Linked DNA regions of Homo sapiens: all the other regions are linked to region 1. The links are contacts of gene promoters, found by promoter capture Hi-C in blood cells and fetal thymus (Javierre and others, 2016). All regions are on one chromosome and are shown on one strand. Each heading gives the region's core, a stretch centred on a gene start or on the middle of the fragment in contact. The rest is flanking DNA. Distances are from core to core; before and after follow the strand shown.

Region 1 (3,212 bases), core at 491-2,990:
ATTTGGCATAAGCACCTGCAGAAGATGGGGATGTGGGGTCAACTAAGGTCCCTCCAAGGACATTGAGAAAAGGTCCAAATGCTCTGGAAAGAGAGGTGTGTTCCTGAGCCCAGGAATGGGGTGGCAGCGTCCTAGGGAGCTAGGGGAGAGGCCACATCTTAATGGAAAGTGCTCCTACCCAGAGAAGCTGACCCCTGTCGTCCTACCCACCTCCACACCCTGGAGCTATATTGAGAGGTGACAGTAAACTGGTGGGAGGGGGGCTGGGAGGGTGTTCCTGGGTGTGAGGGTGGGGGGAAGGCCAGAGCAGGGGAGTCTGGCTTTGTTTCCTGAACACAATGTCCACTTAGTCATAACAGGAACAGCCTGCTGAAGACCTGACACCTACAGCCTCTGAGAGATGGCAGCATTGGAGGATGGGGAGCGGGGCCTTGAGGGCCTAGGGTGCTTGAGGACACCCACAAAGAAGGGAATGTGAGTATAAGCCCTGGAGGGCTTGGAAAGGGGCAACAAAATTCTGCCTGGGGAGGGGGCAGGTGGCAGAGCCCCACCCCGATGGAATGCAGTGCCTGGGGACCAGATGGTGTAAATCCCCAGGCCTGCCAGGCACCTGCACCCTCTGGCAGCCCGGTGAGGCAGAAGGGGACAGCCCCTCACCCACCCCCCTCCTCTCTCAGGCCCTAGGATTAGCACCATCTTCTTCTGCCCACCCCACCCCAGGAGCAGAGGGTAGCAGGGGAGGGCAAAAGCCTATGTGTGCAAATGCGGATGTGCAAATGTGTGCATCCATGTACACAAAAGAAAGTAGAAAAGAAATCTGCAAGCTTGAGTGGGTAAGTGTGAAAAATCTGCATGTGTGGCTGAAGATGGGCACAGACACGGTCAAGTCTGTATGTGAGAGTGCTGAACTGGGGTTCTGTGTGAAAATCTGCCTGAGGCGGCAGGGAGAATCACTGCCATTGCGTGAGCAGGTTGGATGTTGGCCACTCTATCAGGAGCATTAGGGAAGGGGTGGGGACTCCAGACGTGTCCCCAAACCAGGGTGGCCTCAAGACCTTGGGAGAACACTTGTCTGAAGACTTGGGGAACAGAAGGAGACCAGGCATGGCACTTATGCAGACTGAGGCCAGGACAGAATTTCCTGACAAAAGAAAACTGAGCCATGGAGATGGACAACAGATCCCTTCCCTGGGCACCATACTGCAGCTTTTAGTCCCTAGCACTGGGGGCTCCAGTACTAACAGCAGGAAGATGCTCCCAGCCTGGGACTGTGTGAGGGAGGTCAGAATGGGAAGGAGAGGCTGGGGAACAGGGGAGGAAAGCCCATGGTTGGGAGGCGGAGGACAGGCATTTGGCCTGCAGGAGAAGGTGACCCTCACCCATGTTTTCAGTTCACCCTTCGGGTTAAAAATAACTGAGGTAAGGGCCATGGCAGGGTGGGAGAGGCGGTGTGAGAAGGTCCTGTCTTCCCACTATCTGCTCATCAGCCCTTTGAAGGGGAGGAATGTGCCCAAGGACTAAAAAAAGGCCGTGGAGCCAGAGAGGCTGGGGCAGCAGACCTTTCTTGGGCAAATCAGGGGGCCCTGCTGTCCTCCTGTCACCTCCAGAGCCAAAGGATCAAAGGAGGAGGAGCCAGGAGGGGAGAGAGGTGGGAGGGAGGGTCCCTCCGGAAGGACTCCAAATTTAGACAGAGGGTGGGGGAAACGGGATATAAAGGAACTGGAGCTTTGAGGACAGATAGAGAGACTCCTGCGGCCCAGGTAAGAGGAGGTTTGGGGTGGGATGCCCTGCAGCCCGTCCACAGAGCCCCCACCGTGAGGGACCTCCTTCACCAGGAGTGGGGTGCAGGTCAGTTGGAGGCCTAAGGGCTCTATTAAAACTGCCTATCTCCAGGCCCAGGGAAGTTCCCCCTGACACAAGGAGGTTCCACAGGAAACCCAGAAACCTCTTTTCTCCTTCTCTGACTCTCCATTTCTTTCTCTGCATCATTCTGAGTCTCCTACATGTTGTCTCCATCTTTCCATCTTCCTTCCTCCTTTGGATGGCTTCCTTCCCTTGATCCTGGTTTTATCTTGCCTCTTGGTCTTCATCGACACTTGTCACAATCATGCTTCTTTGTCTCTCTCCCTTGTCCTTCCTTCTTGGCACGTGTTCTCACCTCCCTGCCTCTCTGCTTCTAACCCTGTTTCCACACCCCGTCCCTCGCACTCATATTGACTCGGTGCCCTTTCTTTTCTGCCTCTGCGTCTTTCCCTTTCTGACTCCCTGGTCTGTCCTGCCTGTCTGCGCTCTGGGGCTGCCTCCATCCCCGGGTGGCCTGCCTCTGTTGTTCTTCACTCTCCTCATCTGTTCTTCTCTCTGCCCGGCTCTACCTCTGTTGTTCCTTGCTCCACCCACGGTCCAGATTCTTCAGGATTCTCCGTGAAGGGATAACCAGGTGAGAACTGCCCCCATTTTCTCTGCAGAGACTGGGGCATGCTTCTCCTGGGAGCCGGATTGCTGGACCAGGGGTCTGCTGTCCCAAGCACTCAGCGCCAACCCTTAGCATACTCCAGCCAATGCCACCCCAGGGAAACCCCTTACAGAGATTGTCCTTCAGCATCACCTCAGAGGGCAGGAGAAGCAGAGCCCTGAGTAGGGGAGGGTGCAACAGCAGGTGCCTCTCCCAGGGTGGAGGAGAGGAGCGGGGGTAGGGAGGGGGGCTGCAGAGGACAAAGCCACTCGCTGGAGCCTGGGCTCCCTCAGGAGTAACATAGCCCTCCTGTCTCTGACCCAGGGGAAGCACCAAGATGACCGATGCCCAGATGGCTGACTTTGGGGCAGCGGCCCAGTACCTCCGCAAGTCAGAGAAGGAGCGTCTAGAGGCCCAGACCCGGCCCTTTGACATTCGCACTGAGTGCTTCGTGCCCGATGACAAGGAAGAGTTTGTCAAAGCCAAGATTTTGTCCCGGGAGGGAGGCAAGGTCATTGCTGAAACCGAGAATGGGAAGGTGAGTAGGGCATGGCGCCGGGGCAGAAGGGAAGGAGGTCTGGGAAAGAAGATGCAGAGGTGGAGCCACTTGCAGGGGGAGCTGAGAGGGCTGGAGAAAAGCCAAGGCCAGTGGGGATGCCAGGACATGCTCCTTTGAGGAGCCCAGAATCTGATCCCTCTCAAATTGACCTGAGCTGGTGCAACAGGTGCCACCCAGGGCCATGTTCCCCCTGCCAGAGAG
Region 2 (3,212 bases), core at 182-2,681, 470 kb before region 1:
GTAACTAGCACCCTGACATTTATGATGATTAATTTCCCACTTAAAAATACTTTATTAAGCATATATTTATAAACCCTACACTTTAGTTCTGCCTGTTTTTGAACTTTATATAAAAGGAATTATACAGTATGCATTCTGTGTAGCCTGGCTTATTTCACTCAACATTATTGATGAGATTCATCCATGTTGTTATGTGTAGTAGCAGGTTATTGTTTTTCACTTCAATCCCAGTTTTCAGTGGTAGATTAAAGAAACACTCACAGTCCTTCACTCTTTCCAATACCCATGCCTTTTGCAATGTGACTTTAGAGCTCCTCCCATGAAGAAATGGGGTCTAGTTCTCTTCCCTGGAATCTGGGCTGGCATTGTGGCTTCCTTTGGCCAATAGAATATGGTCAGGGTGACCACACGCCTATTCTGAGCATAGGCCTCCAGCAGCCTGTGTGCTTCTGCTCTGTATTTCAGGACTCCTGCCTCAGCCACATGAAAAAGGCTGGGCTAGACTGCTGGAGAATGATGTATGTGGAACACAGCTGAGTAAGCTTGGTTGTGTGGGCTAAGCCCTCAGAAATTAAAAGAATCTCACAGATGCATGAGGCAGCTCAGTTGAGACCAGAACTCCCCAGCTGAATTCAGTCTAAATTGCTGATCCATAAAATTGTGAACTCAATGAAAAGTCACTAAGTTTTGGGGTAGTATGATAGACAACCAATACATATTTCATTGATGTCTGTACCACAATTGATCCATTCTACTGTTGATAGAAATGTAACTTGTTCCAGTTATATAAATTGCACTTCTATAAATTGTGCTGCTATAAAACATTCTTATCATGCCTCCTAGGGCATATGTGCATGCAGTTCTATTGGGCATATATCCAGAATTGAAATTTCCTAAATTTTTTTTTTTTTTTTTTTGAGATGGAGTCTCGCTCTGTCGCCCAGGCTGGAGTGCAGCGGCACCATCTCGGCTCACTGCAAGCTCCACCTCCTGGGTTCACGCCATTCTCCTGTCTCAGCCTCCCAAGTAGCTGGGACTACAGGCACCTGCCACCACACCCAGCTTATTTTTTGTATTTTTAGTAGAGATGAGGTTTCACTGTGTTAGCCAGGATGGTTTCAATCTACTGACCTTGTGATCCACCTGCCTCAGCCTCCCAAAGTGCTGGGATTACAGGCGTGAGCCACCGCGCTGGGCCAAAAAATTTTTTATAGCTACATAATAGTTTTACATATTTATGGGGTTTGATATTTTGATACAAACATACATTGTATAATGATCAAATCAGGGTAATTGGGGTGTCCATCACCTCAAGCATTTATCATTTATTTGTGTTAGGAACATTCCAATTTCACTCCTCTAGTTATTTCAAAATATACAAAAATTACTATTAACTATAGTTGCCCTATTGTGTTACCACTGGATCTTACTCCTTCTATCTAACTGTATTTTTGTACCTGTTAGCCAACCCCTCTTCATCCTCTAATCACCTCCACAGTTCCCAGCTCCTGGTAACCATCAACCTACTCTCTATTTCCATTAGATCGACTCTTTAGCTCCCATATATGAGTGAGAACATGTGATATTTGTCTTCCTGTGTCTGGCTTATTTCACTTAATATAATGTCCTCCAGTTCCATCCATGTTGTTGCAAATGACAGGATTTCATTACTTTTTATGGCTGAATAATATTTCATTGTTGTATGTGTACCACCATTCGTCCAATGATGGTTACTTAGGTTGATTCCATATCTTTGCTATTTGTGAATAAACATGGAAGTGCAGATATCTCTTTGATACACTGATTTCCCTTTTTTTTTTTTTTGGATATATAGCCATCAGTGGGATTTGCTGGATCATATGGTAGCTTAATTTTTAGTTTTTTGAGGAACCCCCATATTGTTTTCCGAAATGGCTGTACTAATTTATATTCCTACCAATAGCGTATGAGCATTCCCCTTTCCCCACATCCTCACTGGCACCTGTTGTTTTATTGTCTTTTTGATAAAAGTCATTTTAACTGGGTTTAGATGATATATCACTGTGGTTTTGGTTTGCATTTCTCTGATGATTAATGATGTTGCACATTTTCTTCACATACCTGTTGGCCATTTGTATATCTTCTTTCAAGAAAGGTCTGTTCACATCTTTTGCCCATTAAAAAAATTGGATTACTTGTTTTCTTGCTGTTGAGTGGTTTGAGTTCCCTATATATTCTGGTTATTAATCCCTTGCCAGTTGAATAGTTTGCAATTTTTTTCCCATTCTATAAGTTGTTTCTTCACTTTGCTATTCGTTTCCTTTGCTGTGAAGAAGCTTTTTAGTTTGATGTGATCCCGTTTGCCCATTCTTACTTTGGTTGCCTGTGGTTTTCAGGTCTTACTCAAGAAGCCTTTGCCCAGACCAATGTCTTGGACAATTTCCCCAATGTTTTCTTCTAGTAGTTTTATAGTTTCCGGCCGAATTGGAATTTTTAGCTCATAGAGTATTATATCTTTACCTTTAATAGTTAATGACTTTATTTATAAAATAGCTGTATGAATTTATACTTCTATCATCAGCATATAAGAGTTCTCATTGCTTCACATTCTGTGCCAACACATGGAATTGAAGAAACATTGAAAAGTTTGCCTTTGAGTTCAGGAACAAGACAAAAATGCCCACAAATACTACACCTTTTCAGTGTTATACTGGAAATCCTACCCAGTGTAGTAATTCAAGAGAATGAGTAAAAGGCATAAATATTGGAAAGGAAGAAATAAGGTGTTATCATTCATGGATCATCTGATGATTGGATATTTAGAAAATCCGAAAGACTCTATAGATAAATTATCAAAATTAATACATTTAACAAGTTGACAGAACAAACTTCATATTTGAAAATAATTTACATTATTATATATTAGCAGCAAAGAGGTAGAAAACAAAATAAAAAGAAAGATGCTATTAATAATAGCATAAAATATTAAATAATTAAGAATAAATAAAGCACAACATGTGCAAGCCTTTTGTGCAGAAGTCTATTTAAATTACAAATCTTACTTAATGGAGGGAGGTATTATGTCTGTGGTTGGATGACTCAGTATTATATACATTTTCCTTAAGTTTGTCTACAGATTCAATGCAATACTAACAGGTTTGTTGAATTGTTTCTAATGCGAATATACTATAATTCTCTTTAAAAACCTTTGTATGTAATATTTCTTTTAGCTC
Region 3 (3,212 bases), core at 500-2,999, 280 kb after region 1:
AAGGGTCCACTATTTTGCCCAGACTGGCCTCAAACTTCCGGGCTCAAATGATTCTCCCGCCTCAGCCTGCCAAAGTGCTGGGATTGCAGGTGTTACCCACCGTGCCCAGACAGGATATAATTTTTTTAAACTCAATCCCACAAGACAGGATATAAATTTTTAAGTACAATTTACATACAATAAAATATGCAGGCTGGGCGTGGTGGCTCATGCCTGTCATCCCAACGCTTTGGGAGCCCGAGGTGGGAGGATCATTAGAGCCCAGTTCGAGACCAGCCTGGGCAACATGGCAAGACCCTGCCTCAATTTTTTTTTTAAAAAGCAGATCATAGGCTGGGCATAGTGGCTCATGCCTGTAATCCCAGTACTTTGGGAGGCCGAGGCGGGCAGATCACCTGAGGTCGGGAGTTCGAGACCAGCCTGACCAACATGGAGAAACCCCGTCTCCACCAAAAATACAAAAATTAGCTGGGTGTGGTGGCGCATGCCTGTAATCCCAGCTACTCGGGAGGCTGAGGCAGAAGAATCGCTTGAACCTGGGAGGCGGAGGTTGCGGTGAACCAAGATCGTGCTATTGCACTCCAGCCTGGGCAACAAGAGTGAAACTCCGTCTCAAAAAAAAAAAAAAAGCAGATCATAAATGTTCATTTTGATGAGTTTTGTGGGGGTTTTTTTGTTTGTGTTTGTTCATTTTTGTTTTTTATTGTTGTTTTTTAGAGGCAGAGTCTCACTATGTTGCCTAGGCTGGCTTTGAACTTCTGGGCTCAAGCAATCTTCCTGCTTCAGCCTCCCAAGTAGCTAGAAATATAGGTGTGTGCCACTGTGCCTGGCTTCCATTTGATGAATTTTGACAGTTGTCAAAATTCAACCACTACCCAAAACAAGATAGAGAACATTTCCACCACCAATTCCCTACTCCCACAAAGACAACTAACTACTCTCTGACTAGGACAAGAGTGTTTTTAGGCCAGGCGCGGTGGCTCACGCCTGTAGTCCCAGCACTTTGGGAGGCCGAGGCAAGTGGATCACGAGGTCAGCAGTTCAAGACCAGCCTGGCCAAGATGGTGAAACCCCGTCTCTACTGAAAATACAAAAATTAGCTGGGCATGGTGGCACACACCTGTAATCCCACCTTCTCGGGAGGCTGAGGCAGAGAATTGCTTAAACCTGGGAGGCGGAGGTTGCAGTGAGCCGAGATTGCAGCACTGCACTCCAGCCTGGGCGACAGAGTCAGACTCCATCTCAAAAAAAAAAAAAAAAAAAAAAATAGAGTGTTTTTAAAGCTTTCCATATGCAGTTCAGTCCCAGTGTATTAGGGAATCTGCATCCTTTGAGGATGTGAGGAATGCTTTTAAAGAGATGAAGATTTTAGGCAACAGACAGAGGCTGCTCCTGCAGCCTTCCAGGCATTGGGAACACCCCACTGAGTGACAGTACAATTATCAGTAACCCTGAGCCACCCATACCACATTCAGGGTCTAACATACCCAGGGTTCATCCACTTTTCCACTGGCTGCCTCTGGTTTGCTTGCACCTGCATTTGTGAACACAGGTTCTGTGACTGGTGGGGTGGAAAGTATGCATGTGAAGGCGGGTGCCTGGTTGGAGTGGGGATGCCCCTGTGTGGGCAGAAGGTAGGCAAGGATGAAGGAGCTGGGGCTTGGTGGTCCCTGGGTTATCCCAGGCTGACCTGCTTTTCTCCCTGACAGGCTGTTCTTCGCTGGAGCCCGAGAGGGCCACCTTCCCAGTGTGTTGGCCATGATCCACGTGAAGCGCTGCACCCCAATCCCAGCCCTGCTCTTCACAGTAAGGGCCCTTCCTGCTGTAACTCTCCACACACCTCCCTCTCTTTGTGCCTAGTCTAAGCTGGGAGTTCATGCTTTTCACACACACCCCTGTTACCCTTGCAGTCTGCTGCTAGGTCTCACTGGATCTTAGAGGATCTGGCAAATGATACCCATCATCTTTGTTAATATCAAGAGATATAGCAAGGAAAGATCCTGAGTCTTGAAATACCTAAGGCTCTCAGGCTGACTTATTTCCGTTCTCCCATCCTTTTGGGTCAGACTGAACTGACTGTCTCAGGATTCTACAGCCTCAAAAAAAATATATCTCCCTTGGCTCTCCTCGCACCTGTTACCACAGGGTTGCAGCACTGGCCTCTGCTCCTGGCTGGTTGGTCCCTGCAAACACCCACTTCCCCCATCAAGCTTCAGGGCAGCCTGCCAGTCTCTTGGGAAACATCATTGAAATGAAGTTAGTGTTAACAGTACACCAAATACGAAAAATAATAGAGGAAGACTGATAAACTGGAAACTGTGCAAAGGAAACTTGGGACAGGAAAGAGATGGGAGTAAAATATCCCCAGAGTAGAATCATTTTGAGAGAGCTATAGGAAGGAACAAAGACTTGTCCCCATTGAGTCTTTTGAGTTATTTTTATTTTCCTTCTGGATCCTGAATAAAACACTAAAAATGACTTTGGTCCACTGGTGAAGCAGTTAGCAATCAGAATAACAGAGCTCTTGGGAGCCAAGAGCATTTTACAGCATTGCTGTACAATTTCAGAATGTTCAGATGCAGGATGAAGGTCACCTTGACTGGTTGGTTGTCGAAGGTGGCTGGAGAAGACAGTACTCCCAGTGGGCCACACACATTTTTTTGTTTTGTTTTGTTTTGTTTTTTCCAGTTAGAGCTATTGGTGCAGTAGTGTGACTAAAAGGCAGATGTAGCAAGAACCATTAAAATCTTCTCGATTATTTTAACCATCGGATCTCACAAGAGAACAGAACCTTTTGTTGACCTTCACAAGTTATCAGAGGGGAGGAGCATGGTTCCAAGAGAGCCACAGAGATGATTTTGAAGTTGGAAAGTAGACTCTGTCAAGAAAACCTCATAGGGATGTTATGAGGGTTAAGTGAGTTAATCTTTGTCAAATGCTAAACATAGAGACCTGGCACACAGTAAGTGCTATGTAACCAGTTTTGAAATTAATAAAGAAAAGGAAGGAAGAAAAATAGATGACTCAGCCAGGAGAAAAGGATGAGGGCAGGAATACAGCCTTAATCTGTTGTTAACAATCTTCCCTAAGGGATTTTAAAAAAATGAATTTAGCTTGAGCTATAACCAACAGAGGCATACAAATGAGACCGGGGCTGACACAGAGCCAGGTAATACCAGTGTGGCCAGTCTAGCTGCTTATGTCCAGTATCC

The links. Contacts are between HindIII fragments. The CHiCAGO score rates a contact against its expected background, and 5 or more counts as called.
Region 2: a contact is called between a fragment that was not itself captured here and the fragment with the promoter of MYH6 in region 1, in 1 of 17 cell types (M2 macrophages). The highest score is 5.3, in M2 macrophages.
Region 3: a fragment that was not itself captured here is called in contact with the fragment with the promoter of MYH6 in region 1 in 1 of 17 cell types (erythroblasts); the score reaches 5.0 in erythroblasts.

Annotation. Positions count from the first base shown.
Region 1 is chr14:23,406,801-23,410,012 of GRCh38, reverse strand. MYH6 (myosin heavy chain 6) reads left to right here and starts at 1,740. Exons shown (of 39, transcript NM_002471.4): 1 at 1,740-1,760; 2 at 2,405-2,437; 3 at 2,777-2,990. The coding sequence starts at 2,790. RefSeq lists enhancers at 2,387-2,887, 570-3,212. The HindIII fragment of the contact is 15,953 bases long and covers 827-3,212 here.
Region 2 is chr14:23,878,732-23,881,943 of GRCh38, reverse strand. The region is part of intron 2 of LINC00596 (long intergenic non-protein coding RNA 596); the gene reads left to right. Among named protein-coding and RNA genes, the nearest start is that of LINC00596, 23 kb to the left of the region's middle. The HindIII fragment of the contact is 1,773 bases long and covers 545-2,317 here.
Region 3 is chr14:23,130,055-23,133,266 of GRCh38, reverse strand. SLC7A8 (solute carrier family 7 member 8) reads left to right here. Exons shown (of 11, transcript NM_012244.4): 8 at 1,710-1,806. Among named protein-coding and RNA genes, the nearest start is that of CEBPE, 12 kb to the right of the region's middle. The HindIII fragment of the contact is 927 bases long and covers 1,286-2,212 here.